Regions from separate parts of the Homo sapiens genome. Here region 2 is linked to region 1. The links are contacts of gene promoters, found by promoter capture Hi-C in blood cells and fetal thymus (Javierre and others, 2016). All regions are on one chromosome and are shown on one strand. The core of a region is centred on a gene start or on the middle of the fragment in contact, and the rest is flanking DNA. Distances in the headings are between cores, read along the strand shown. Region 1 holds the start of IRF4 (interferon regulatory factor 4). Region 2 has its middle 55 kb from the start of IRF4.

Region 1 (6,994 bases), core at 2,824-5,323:
TTCTTCTCTGCATGTAGGAAAAAGCCCCGCTTACTAACTCTGCCCTCAAAGAGATCACAAGCTGGTCCTGAACGCCCTGTGCCCTGGGAATGCTTACTGTCGAAGCTCTGCAAATTTTCTCATTGAAGGCACTCAGGGCATTCTGCTAATTAAATTAGGAAAATGTGTACAGCTCTACTTGAAAAAATCCAGGTTTATGCTCTGTATTCTATTACCAAAGAATTTATCACTTTTCAAATAACATTCAATTATTTTAAACTGAGTGTGCAGTGAGAGCATTTATAATATAATCTCATTTCCAGAGTGTTCCATCCCAACTCCTCTCTGGTATAAGTAGCTTAGAAGGTTAGATTTTTTTTTTCCAGAGGATTAAACATTCGAGAAGAGTGGCTAAGAGGCAGCACCAGGTTTCTCTCATTTCCTCAAAGAGAATTTAGCCTTGTGAAGAAGAATAAAGTGAAGGTCAATGGTTAGATCCATGGCTTAAAAATAAAATGCAGCTTTCCTTACTCTGAATTTACCATAACCAAAAAGGCCACGAGGCAGCCATTAATGATCCTAAGTTGCAACAGAAAGAAAAAAACACCTACTTAGGGTTAAACGAGGATTCAGTGGTCACTTGCCGCCGGCCTCCACTTCACAGGGGCGGAGGATGAGGCCAGGGAAGACTTTCTTACCCACACTGACCTGACCAGAGATGAAACTCCCCCTCCTATGACAGCCTGCACTCAGAGGCTGATTCTGAAATAGTCATGCCAAATGCAGCCAATCCCTGTGTACAAGGAGAAAAAATAGTTCCTCAGAGCTGTGTCCTTGGGCCAGCCATCTGGACCTCTCACAATCTCTTTCGTTCTCCCTACACTTGGGCTGAATCCCGCCTTCCTTGCCTGCCAGGTTTGGTTTGGGGGCCAAATGAGTGAAAGTCCGTGAGATACCCCTAAGTATTGAAGTGCGTAGTAAATGATAATAGCCCTGATTTGTTGAACATGATGATGTGCCAGGCATTGCGCAAAGCATCATTTCATCATCACAACAAACACTGCTGGGAGGCAGGGACACCCCCACCCTCCTTGTACACCCAGAAGTAGGACTTTGGTTAAATGGCTCTCCCAAGGCCTCACAGCCTTAAAAACTCAAGCACTTATTTAATCCCCAATGATACTACCTTTTGGCCATGCAATGTGTCATGGCCAGTAATTAGATTTGCAAACACATATAACCAAAGAGGATTAGAAGAGACATATATTCTATATAAATTACATGAAAATAGCACTTTCAGTATTTTCCTGATTTTTTCTGGTAATTAAAAATGATTGCCCTTTATATTTCTTTATGGATACAGTTGCATTGTTTTTAGCCAATTGTAGCCCCCCCCTTTAAAGAGTGAATTAGTGGGAAAATAGTGTTATCCAAGATTTTAAGAATCTAGTGTGTGTGTTTGTGTGTGTAGGATGGGTTTTTCTGAAATATTTTACTTGCATGTGAATGTATAATTTTAAAGATTGGCTTTTAAAATACTGAATTGAGGTAAATTCAGCTTTTCTTGCAGACTCTTTACGATAAATGTGAAATTGAAAATGGAAATGCTCCATTCAGATGGTGTGCCGACTACAACCTCAACATACGGATAATTCACTAAATAAGTAACTTCCTCGTGGAATATCACGGTCAGCCTTTGTTTTGGGTACACATTCAATGAACTGGTTTCCTATTAGTTTCTGCTTGTCAACAAGTTGTGTCATTTACTGATAAATATCCAGCCTTTTACTAAGGAATACCGATTTTCTCAAGTCTCAGTGTGTGGAGGGGGTGGGAGTTTGGTGGGGAAGCTTTTCAATTTGAGAACCTTTGCCGTTTTTTGTTTCAATCGTGACTAAGATATAAAAGTCCTTGGTCACCACTGCCAGCTGCTACCTGTTCACTGCCTCCCTGACGGGTAATGAGGCCATCCGGAGTTTTAGTGATTAAAATGTTTTATTACTTGTATTCACATCATCATTAAGAAAAATAACTTCTAGTGGATCAATATGGCAAATGAGTAAACCAGAAGATGGCGTTGAAGATTAGCAATTACATTTAAAAACAAGGTAGTGGTGTGAAGGCTCAGAGTTTCACACAACGACTGTTGTTCTGAACTAAAAGCAGAGGATGTGGATGAGTGAGGGGAGGGTATGTTGAAAATGACTAAACCCGGTGCAGAGGACACGTATACGAAAGTGCAAAAAGCTCTCATTTGCCATTTTTTGTCCTCAGCAAACTCCTCTCTGGTATGTTTGTGAACGTTTGAGGGAAAGGTAACACTGATTAAAATATAATGCAACAAGAAGGCAACGATCTTTGCTTTGTTCACTGATGTGTTCCAAGTGCCTAGGACGGTTCCTGACAAGTAGCAGGTGCTCAAAATACATTTGTCAAGTGAATAAATCTGTGAAAGGAAAGGAAGAAAAACAGGTTGTGACCAGAACTTTTTGTGAACAAAACCCTGTTGTTTATTACATAGACTTTGGTAATGGAAAACTTACTTGGGTGAAATAAAAAATGGCATCCTGTTAATTTCTGAGAACGTCTGTTGGTTTTAGGAAAAGCATACCTATCCATACCTCACTACCTGTTTTGCTCTAGCCTAAACATAGATTCTTCTTTGGTTAGGAGACATTGACCCAATATATAAGATTAAAACAAAAACTGAGAAATAAGTGAAATCAAAAGCTTTTCAAAAGTTGCAGGTTGACCTACGGTGGTGGTGGTCTAAAATCATATAGAAACCAGAGATCTGATGGTTTACCTGAAAATGCGAAGTAAATGCACATACTCAGCATCTCAGACGATCGAAAGCTCAACGGGTGAAAGCTCAGGGGGTTAATTTTGCGATTAAGGACATCTTGGAAAAGTATGTAAAATCCCTGGTCCACTTAAGTATTATTCCTATTTTGGGCTTTTATTTATTTATTTTGAGATGGAGTCTTGCTCTGTCGCCCACCTCGGCTCACTGCAACTTCAGCCTCCCGGGTTCAAGCGATTCTCGTGGCTCGTCCTCTCAAGTAGCTGGGGCCACGCCCGGCTAATTTTTGTATTTTTAGTAGAGATGGGGTTTCACCGTGTTGGCCAGGCTGGTCTCGAACTCCTGACCTCAGGCGATCCACCGCCTCGGCCTCCCAAAGTGCTGGGATTACAGGCTTGAGCCACAGCGCCTGGCCTATTTTGGGCTTTTATACCCCACTGGTAAACTGCTTTCCTCCAGGTTGAGGTTAAAACGACATCATTTTAAGGTGAACTGAAGTCTGGAAGTGATTAAGCACTTGGATCCTTAGGGAGCCTCTCCCCGCCCCCATCTCTTTCATGCTAAGATAATTAAAACTTCGGGGCCGGGGCATTGTCTGAGTCACTTCAATTCACCAGCCTAATAGATGCAAAAGGATGTAAGCATGTCAGACACGCAGAGACAGTATTTGAATCAAGCTTAATAGCTCAAGGGAGCTGGGCCATTTCCTATTTTCTTTTTAGTGAGTGCGATGTTCTCTAAACACCGCGGAGAGGCAGGGTTCCCGGTGATGGCCTTGCCGAGGGTGCTCCCGCAACCTCCACCTCCAGTTCTCTTTGGACCATTCCTCCGTCTTCCGTTACACGCTCTGCAAAGCGAAGTCCCCTTCGCACCAGATTCCCGCTACTACACGCCCCCCATTTCCCGCCCTGGCCACATCGCTGCAGTTTAGTGATTGACTGGCCTCCTGAGGTCCTGGCGCAAAGGCGAGATTCGCATTTCGCACCTCGCCCTTCGCGGGAAACGGCCCCAGTGACAGTCCCCGAAGCGGCGCGCGCCCGGCTGGAGGTGCGCTCTCCGGGCGCGGCGCGCGGAGGGTCGCCAAGGGCGCGGGAACCCCACCCCGGCCGCGGCAGCCCCCAGCCTTCACGCCGGCCCTGAGGCTCGCCCGCCCGGCCGGCCCCGGCTCTCGGCTTGCAAAGTCCCTCTCCCCAGTCCAACCCCCGGCCCCCACAGGCCTCGGCGCCCCGCCCCGCCCCAGGCCCCGCCCCAGAGAGTTCTATAAAGTTCCTCTTTCCCACCTCGCACTCTCAGTTTCACCGCTCGATCTTGGGACCCACCGCTGCCCTCAGCTCCGAGTCCAGGGCGAGGTAAGGGCTGGAGTCGGGCAGGAGGAGGGGTGTGAGGCTGATACCAGAGAGGACCCGGAGCGCGAACCAGAGGTTCGACCTCCAGGGCAGCGCAGGGTACCCCGGCTTCGGAGCGGGAAGGGAGCGCGCCCCGTCCTGGAGCTCCGACTCCCACCCCATCTGCGCTGAGCCGGAGGCGCTGGTTTGGGCTCCAAGGCCCGCCTCCTTGGCTCTGCCCGAGCCTCCCCGCCTGCCCTCCGCGCTCCTGCGACGGGGTCGCCACAAGCTGGACGGGATGAGCTAACCGGACTGTCGGGGCCCCAGGAGTGGCTGAGGCGGGGCCGTCCAAGGCACCCACACAAGACGGCACAACTGCCTGCGAGAAACAGGCCCGGCCCTGTGGACCCCAATCCGAGGCTCCTTCCCCTGCTCTTCGTTCCTAAGGGGCCCAAGCTCACGGCGGCCTCCGGCGCGGTGCTCACCCGCTGGCGCAGGAGGAGGAGGAGCTCCACATTTGGGTCGCTCCGAGCCTTGCGTGCGGTGGCCTAGCCGGCCTGGCGCGGTCCCTGCCTCCCAGGCTCCGCAGCTGTCGTCGCCCTCTCCCGCGCCCTCCCCGCCTCCGCTCTCCCGGGCCTGCTCCGGGGTCCGGCGGACGCTCTGCGCGCGGAATCCCCCGTACTGGGGCTGCAGCCCCCGCGTCTGCGCCACTTGTCGTTTGCAGAGCCCACTTAGTGCGCGCTAGCTGGGCAGGGATAGGGGTCCTATTCGGGGCGAAGGGTCTGGATGCGAGCAGAGAAAGCGGAGGGTGGAGGAACCCGGGGCTGCGCCCCTGGAACGCCCGGCCGCAGGCGAGGTCCTCCGCGCGTGGAGGCCGCCAGGGGAGTGGAAACTGACAGAGTCGCGGGGAAGGGGCGAGAAGCGGGTTGGGAGTGAGCGAAGGCAAGCGAGAGCTGCGAGTGAGTGCGGAAGGAGGGCCAGGAGGGGTGGCGGCTGGGTGGGGAGAGAGGGTGCAAGACGAGCGGCGCGTGTCGGGAGCCTTTGGGCTGCGGGTGCGTTACAGGAGAGCAGGCGGGTAGGAGCCTTCGCGGGGGCCGAGCTCGGAAGGCGGACGGCTGTGCCCGCCCAGGGGATGCGCCCGGGCCGGCCGCGAAGGTGCCTTCTTCCGGGGGCCCGGACGACCCTGACACGGCACGCGCGCGCTTCGCAGCCTCAAAGACTCCGGGGCCTCGTGGTCACTGGCGCAGGGGATCGGGGCGGGGTGCCCGGAGTGCGGTGCCTCGTGGCTGAAGGGCAGCTCTTCTCCCCGCAGTGCAGAGCAGAGCGGGCGGAGGACCCCGGGCGCGGGCGCGGACGGCACGCGGGGCATGAACCTGGAGGGCGGCGGCCGAGGCGGAGAGTTCGGCATGAGCGCGGTGAGCTGCGGCAACGGGAAGCTCCGCCAGTGGCTGATCGACCAGATCGACAGCGGCAAGTACCCCGGGCTGGTGTGGGAGAACGAGGAGAAGAGCATCTTCCGCATCCCCTGGAAGCACGCGGGCAAGCAGGACTACAACCGCGAGGAGGACGCCGCGCTCTTCAAGGTCTCCGGCCTCGGGAGCCGGCGGGGGCGCGCCGGGGAGGGCCCAGAGACAGAGCCCGGGGTCCCCGGCGCCGCCTCCGAGGCGAGCCCAGGGGACCGCGCGGGGCGGACGGGCGGGCGGCGGAGGCATCAGGTGGCGTCGCCGGAGCCGCAGGAGGAGGAAAGGAGGCCTCGGCTCTCAGCGGGACCGCGGGGGCCGGGAGCCGGGTCCTGGGCGCGTGGAGGCTGCAGGGAAACCGCTGAAGGCCCGGCCGGGCCCGGGGAAGGGCGGCCAAAGGCTTGAGGGGTTTTGCGCGTTCGTCCGTGCGTTCTCGTTTCCACGCAAGCCTCCCGCCCTTCCTCCGGGCTCCCGTCTGCCGCCTCCGTCCGTGGGTCCCCCTCGCCCTCTCCGTGCGTCCGCGCCTGTGCCGGCGGCTGTTTTCGTCTCTCACCGCGTCTCTGTTTCTCTTTTCGCTGCTTTTCTCTCTGAGTCTCTCTCTCTCCATGTTTTTCCTGAGGTCAGCCTCTCTTCTCGCTCCTGCTAGCTCTCTGCGGGTACTCCCACCTCTGTCTTTCTCTTTGTGTGTCTCTGTCTCTCTCTTTCCCCCATCGCAGTGGAACTCAGGGCCTCTGTCTAGAGCTGTCTCCCTTGCCCTTTGCGCGAGTGCACACACGTGTGTCGTTGTTACGATTGTTCTCCCCTAAGGCAGTTTACCCAGAGAACTACGTGTCTGGGCCCAGCCCCCACCTGTGGGCAGAGCAGGGGAAGGGGACTTCCTCCGGGAATTTGGTCTCAATTTGCTCTCAGAGTGCCTCAGCTGTGCTGCCATCCAGATGTCTCCTGTGGGTGACAGCTCACACCACAGCTGTCCTTAGTCCTAGGCAAGCTCACTCAGACACTGGGTGGGTAGAGCCCCCTCAAGGAACCTCCGCATCTCACTCTACCGGTTATAAATACCCAGAAAATGTGTCTTCAACTTGGCAGTGATAGGGTCCAAGATGGAAAATCATTTTCCTAGAGCATAGCTGGGGTCTTTCAGTTTACGTTCTGAGCAACGGTGTAAATCTGAAGGACCTATGCGCCATTCTTTCTTTTAGAAATACAATTTCAAGATTCCTTATAAAATATCTGTATTTTGGGTTTAGCATGGTGGCTCACACCTGTAATCCCAGCACTTTGGGAAGATGAGGTGGAAGGATGCCTATGCAACATAGTGAGACCCTGCCTCTGCAAAAAATAATAATTAAAAAAATTAGCCAGGCATGGTGGTGAACACCTGTAGGCCGAGGGCCCAGCTACTCTAGAGGCTGAGATAGGAGGACCCT
Region 2 (6,400 bases), core at 2,883-5,382, 56 kb after region 1:
CCTCCATTGAAGTGGTGTTGAATGGCTCTCATTAGTGTCTTAATTTATTTTTATTTTTGGACTGTTTTTCACGTCTGCCTTCCCTGTTCTAAGAATGATAATAATGCAATAATCACTACTACTATTGCTACTACTTGAAAATGCCCTGGCTGCTTTGGAACTATCTAAATATCTCCCTTGAGCCTCAAAACAACTGTGTGGGGGTACGTGGGGGAAGATATTCATTAACTACAGGTGGGAAGCTATTGCCCAAACAAGAAGCCAAGACGAGCACCCAACTCCTCTGGTACTGTGTTCACTGGTCTTGTAAAACATTGTCAAGGTAATGACATCTGTGGTAAAATATCAAAGAACACAGCAAGGCTTTGAATAGGAAGAAGAAGCCCCAGGCACTCCTTCCCCAGAGCGGCACCTGGCTCCCTCCACCTGTGCGTCTGCAGGTGCTTCCACCCAGGACTGTGGACCCAGGACTGCCTCCACCCAGGACTCCACCCAAGACTGTGCGCCCTGTGCCCCGGGTTGCTGATTGTCTTACCTACTGACTTCCTCAGTGAGTGCGGGAGTTTGCCTTCGAGAGCCGTCTACCCTCCCACGCCCCGATGGTGACAGTGCTGTCCCCAGCTGTCCTGCTGGCTGTCCCTCCGTGGCATCCCCCCTTCCTTTCCCGCAGGCCCCCTCTCTCTTCCGCTTAGCCACAGGGTCACTCTCTGGGGCGAAACTGCAATACGCCTATGGTCGTCTGTGATCAAATTGCAGCTGATGATGTGGGCTTTGCTTGGCGACCATAACCGAGTCTTCTGCGCTTTGTCTGCCCTACAGGCTGAGAGCCAATGGGGAGGCCACGTCCCTGAAGCACCAGGAAACTCTTCCCCGCGGAGCCAAGGGGCGCTGGGTGGCCTTCCCTTCCTCGTACAGCTTTTTGCTTTTCCTAGAGTTTCTAACCCACTAACTGGGGGCCCAAAGTAAAGCAGAGAAGTGGGGAAAAGGAACCAAGGGAGGGAAGAAGAGCTCCAAAATGCTGTTCAAAAGCCAACACGGTGAAACCTCATCTCTACTAAAAATACAAAAATCGGCTGGATGTGGTGGCACATGCCTGTAGTCCCAGATACTCAGGGGGCTGAGGCAGGAGAATCGCTTGAACCTGGGAGGCGAAGGTTGCAGGGAGCAGAGATTGCACCACTGCACTCCAGCCTGGGCAACAAAGCGACGCTCCGTCTCAAGAAACAACAACAACAAAACAACAACAACAACAAAGAACATCTTCCCATTAGCACTGGAGCAGCCTCCTTGGAGCATAGAATGCGGTGCGGGCGGGCTCTGCACTATTCACCTTCCCCTGCACGCCCTTGTCTCCTGAGTGCCGTGGTGGGATCTTTGTGGCTTTGTTCCAAGTTGTGCCACTGATCGGCTGGGTGCCTGGGGCACCTCAGTTTTCATCATCTGTGAAGTGGGGGTGCAGCAGCACATGGCTCACAAAGCTGGGGTGGGCATCGCGTGAATTACACAGGTGGATGCGGACAGCAATGTGGGCCCCGGGTCCCAGCTTACTAAGGGGAGTCCCCTTGCAGCAGATGAGTCCTGAGGCCTTTCGTGCTTTTGTCCACTGGACAAGCCCTCCTCAGGGACCAAGGTGTGGCCCCGGGAGCAAGCCTGGCACCGAGGGGGCCCCTGCAGGGAGGGACAGCAGGCGTAGGGCCTTGAGGAGCTCCAGAGGACGCCGCACGGCAGGCTTTAGGCAAATGCGTGGTGAATGAATTTGATGACAGCTCAGCATGTACTGAATGGATGTTGAGTGTGTTTGAAATCAAAGACCAAACCACAACACTGGGGAGGAAGCGAGTGGATGGTGCCAGGGAGGGCAGGGCGTGGTGTGGAGGGAGAACGGCTGGGCCAGGCGAGGGGGACTCACAAACATGGGTTGTGCTGAGCTCTCAGAGCTGCTCTTGCTTTTCAGATGGCAACAGTGGTGGCATTTGCTTTTGTCTTCCTCCAGCCTTTAGGGGTTTGAAGTGATAGTTTAGGGGATTCATCAGGATGGCTGTAAACAAGCAGAGGGAGGCAGGGCACACCTCCAAGACATGCTCTCTGGCACTTCTGGTTTCCTGGGTTTTTAGCTTTGCTGTCATGCAGTGGAGTCTCTGGAACCAAAACAGGTAACAGGATTGAAGACTCTGCTTAGGGCCCTGGTTTGGGCCTTTCCAGAAACCATCATAGGAACTGTTCAAGAAATGGTTACCAGGGAAATGCAGGCACAGTGGCACTCAGGCCCCTGGAAAAATGGGTTGATTGCAACAGAAATATCTTTCTCGAAGTGCAGCCCTGTTATAGTCAGAGGTTCGGGTAGGAAAAAGCAGGGGCACTGGTGAGTCAGAGGCACGGAAGATGGATCCCAGAGTGGAGGAGCCCCCAGTGGGGCAGCTAGGGAATCTGGGAGGTGGGGGGACAGGGGGCGGTCACTCTGTCTCCGGCCCATGATGGGCTGTTTCTGTGAAGCTCTAGAGCCCATGACTCCAGGTCACCAGTGTCACAGGAAGCTTGGGGCCAGAGTGGGTCTCTGAGAGTCATGCTGAAAGCTAGATGTGGTCTTACTGTGTCCACTCCTCTAGGAGAAGACACTGCAATTTCCAAATGAAGCAATGCTCATCCTATGTGCTGGTGATGTGAAAATACTGGGGTCACTGTGGGCTTTCAGGAAGTGCCTAGGTGGGGCTGGAGGCTGTGGTGAACAGAAGGGGCGGGGTGGCCGGGCAGGAGGACTGAGGGACAAAGCTAGGAGAGGGAACTGGGCAGCCAGCCTGGTGGGGATCTCAGAGCTGCCACCCTGCCCAGCGTGGCACAGCCATCTCTGCCCTGAGCTCGGCTGCTTCTCCTGAGTCCAGCTGTGACCTAGCAGGAAGCCCCTCGGCTTGTCTGCTAGGGGTCCTGGCTCAGTGCTGAGTCACACTTTTTATGGAAATATCAGGTGCCTGTCCCTCACACTTCTTGTTGCTTCCTCAGGCCCAGGACCTGCCCACCTACCTGCATGCCCGCCTGGTGGACCTGTCCCTCCCCCAGCCCAACCTGGCTCCCTGGAAGGATGAGAAGCAGTAGGGGAGATGAGGCAAAAGCTGGGGCAGCCCCTGCAGGGGAAGTTGAGGCAGGGATCATCTATTCACACGCAAAAGGGATGCTGTACGGGGTGCTGGGGTCCCACATAGAGAAGTTCTAGCTGCAGTGCTGGGCAGCCCTGGAGCAGCAGAACTCAGCAGTGCAAGGCGGCTGCTCAGAGCGGCCACGATAAGAAGGCGCAGGTCTGTCCCCTCCCCCGGCGCCTGCTGCTCCCTGCCTCTGCCTCCCTGTCCAGCTTCTGCTCATGCTTCAGGGTCGCTGATGTGGATCCAAACAGCCACACAGAGGAGTCTCTTCAGTGGGGGGTGCTGGGGGGTGTCACTGGGAATGTGGACTGCAGGTGAGCACACCCCACTAACCTCATTTAACCTATTTAGTGTCTTATGCAATTTAAGAAAAACCAAAAACCAAACAACAACAGCAAAAAAACCCCACACCAACCCACAGTCTTTGAAAGGGTTGGGTTCCACCAGGAGACTCAGGCGTCTTAGTGGAAAGAATGATCTGGGCTCTGGCTGGGATGGCACAGGCAGCTGGGGGGCGGTGCCCGCCGCCGGGAGGCGTGGGCCTGACTCAGTGGAAGGAAGTGGTGTGTTTCCATTGCAGAGCTCAAAAACAAGGTGGTTTGAGGAACGCTTGTGTGTCACCGGCATTTCCCTGTTGTGTTTATGAAGTGAGGTGGGAATCAAGCTCTGGGGTTACTCTAATTGTGTCTTTTACAAGAAACCAAGAAGCCCCCATGGAACACAGGCAGGGGCTGAGGCGGCCGGGAGGGGCTGGGGAAACCCAGGCGCAAGCGCGCTGGGCTGGGAGGACGGGGCCGGCCACCTCACCCGGCTCTCCAGCACCCCATTTTAAGGATGGGACCACCCTCTGCCAGCCTGCCTCTTCCCAGCGCATGTCCTGACCTCCCCGAACTGCTTCCTTTTCTAGACGCTGTGTGGGTGCAAACAGCAGGTGCTCATGGATGGCACGGATGACAAACAGCAGGTGCTCATGGGTGGCACCGCATGTCCAGGCCAGGGAGAGGCTGCGGGGCTGGGAGGGCGGGGCTCATAAGATGGACGTGCACACAGCAGTCGGGTGAGCCTCCGGTGCCCCTGGAAGCCTGCTGACCACGCAGCGCGCAGCATTGCCCCTCCCTAGCTGAGGCCATGGGGGCGGGGGATGCGGGCTTTTACTGGCGTGGCAATTCTGTCTTCTGAGGTCACTCACAGTTTCCCCCTGGTGAGGCGAGCACTGTGCTGAGGAGCGTTCCACCATGCAGTACAGGAGAGCAGTGGTCTGCATGATGGATCCTGCACAATGAGAAAGCCAGGCAGCCTCCCGAAAGGAAGTGCCGGCGAGGGATCCAGATGCAAACAGCCCAGGCCGCAGGGCTGGTCCCTCTCTCCTCCACAGGAATTTCCAATGCAGGCCGCCCCACAGAGTAAGCATCCCTTGAAGTAATGTTTCAGGGGCTCATTTCTGTATTTAAGGGAGGGAGGGAGAACGAGCCAGAGGAAGGGCTGCACCGAGCGCCGCAGTGGAGAGGAAGCGGTGAGACCAACGTTCCACTCACCTGTCTGGGCTGCCATCGGACAGCAAAACAATGGGAGAAAAAATCCCCACGTTTTCACAAGGAGGTTTACTGGAAAATCATCTAATAAACAGGCTCGTAAGCACAAGCACAGCAATCTCGAAACCACCTTCTCATCATTCAGATGTTGCTTTCAGAATTGCCTCCTTCCTCCAGGCCACTGCCATGGAGGCCTGGCACTGAGTCCCCCCGGGAGGTCCTGTGGCTCCACTCGAGGCTGTGACATTATAATCTGTTATGGGCTGACTGTGTCCCCCTCCAAACTCATATGTTGAAGTCCTAACCCCCATGCTATGGTTTGAAGATTTGTCCCCACAAAACTCATGTTGAAAAGTAATCCTCAGTGTGGAAGTCTTGAGAGGTGGGGCCTTTAATAGATGGTTTATGCATTAATGGGCTAATGGATTTAATGGTTTATCATGCTATTGGGACTGGTGGCTTTATAGGAAGAGGAAGAGAGACGTGAGCCGGCATGCTCAGCATCCTCACCATGTGATGCCCTGCGCTGCCAGGACTCTGCAGAATCCCCACCAGCAAGAAGGCCCTCACCAGATGCAGCCCCACCCCGCGATCTTGGACTTCCCAGCCTCCATAACTTCAAGAAATAAATTCCTTTTCTTTATAGATTGCCCAGTTTCTGATATTCTGTTATAAGTGACAGAGAATGGATGAAGACGCTTCTTGTACCTCAAAGTGACTGCATTTAGAGACAGGGCCTTTAGAAAGAGAATTGAGTTAAAATGAGGTCTTCAGGGTGAGCCCTAAACTAACATGAGTGGTGCTCCTTTAAGAAGAGGAGAGAGCGCAGACACACAGAGGGAGGCCCCCGCGAGGCTACAGGGAGAAGACACCATCTGCAAACCAAGGAGAGGTCTCCAGAGAAGCCAGCCCTGCCACACGTGGCTCAAAGCCGTCTGCCCTCCAGGACTGTGAGAGAACAAACGTGTGTTGCTGAAGCCCGGAGTGCACGCCCAGCGCGTGGTGCTCGTTAAGGCAATCAGAGCAAAGTGACCCAGCACCCTTCTAGAGAAATGGTTTCATATCGAAGCTTGGAAGTCACCGAGCCCCCTGATTTTATAACTGAGGAAATGGAGGCACCCCGTGTTGGGTCCCACAGCTCACCAGCTCAGCCAGTGTTCCCTGAGCCTGGCGCTGGCGGGCCCTGGGCACCGCGATGGGTGGGGGCCGGGCCTGTCCTCTCGGGCTGTTTGGCTCAGGAGTCACACAGGCCCTAAGCATGGGGATGCGGTTCCAGGCGCCGGCAGGTGCCACAGAGGAATCCAGTGGGTGTGTGAGGACTTCTCACTGATCCCCAGAGGCAGGGAGGTGGCGGCTGGGACCCCAGGGAGCAAGGTGGAGCCCAGCAGAAGGGAGTACGAGGAATTTCCAAGTAAGGGACCACTGGCTCACCTGGAGGGAAAGGCAGGACCCAGAGCCCCAGGAGGCCGCTGCAGGCTCAGATGAGAACGGAGGGCTGCAGCCAGCACATTCTGGATGGACTTTAAGGTAGAGTTAATGAAGCTGGTCAATAGATTCGGTGTGGGGGCGAGAGGGAAAGACAAGAGGCAAGAAGGACCCCAAGAGTCCAGGGGAAGCTGAGGCTGGAGACGGGAAGCCTGGGCGTGGCCAGCGCGGACATGGCCCCAATCCCCTGGCCTGCCTGAGACCCTGTGATCGAGAACTGCTGCGATCCCAGGATGGGCTCTGGGGCAC

Evidence for each region. Contacts are between HindIII fragments. The CHiCAGO score rates a contact against its expected background, and 5 or more counts as called.
Region 2: a fragment that was not itself captured here is called in contact with the fragment with the promoter of IRF4 in region 1 in 1 of 17 cell types (activated CD4 T cells); the score reaches 12.5 in activated CD4 T cells.

What each region holds. Positions count from the first base shown.
Region 1 is chr6:387,679-394,672 of GRCh38, forward strand. IRF4 (interferon regulatory factor 4) reads left to right here and starts at 4,074. Exons shown (of 9, transcript NM_002460.4): 1 at 4,074-4,131; 2 at 5,420-5,690. The coding sequence starts at 5,475. RefSeq lists enhancers at 2,044-2,093, 6,291-6,400, 6,441-6,490 and silencers at 3,761-4,150, 4,391-4,460, 4,741-4,790, 4,961-5,010, 5,121-5,230 and 3 more. The HindIII fragment of the contact is 5,232 bases long and covers 3,458-6,994 here.
Region 2 is chr6:443,297-449,696 of GRCh38, forward strand. No RefSeq gene overlaps it. Among named protein-coding and RNA genes, the nearest start is that of IRF4, 55 kb to the left of the region's middle. The HindIII fragment of the contact is 3,201 bases long and covers 2,533-5,733 here.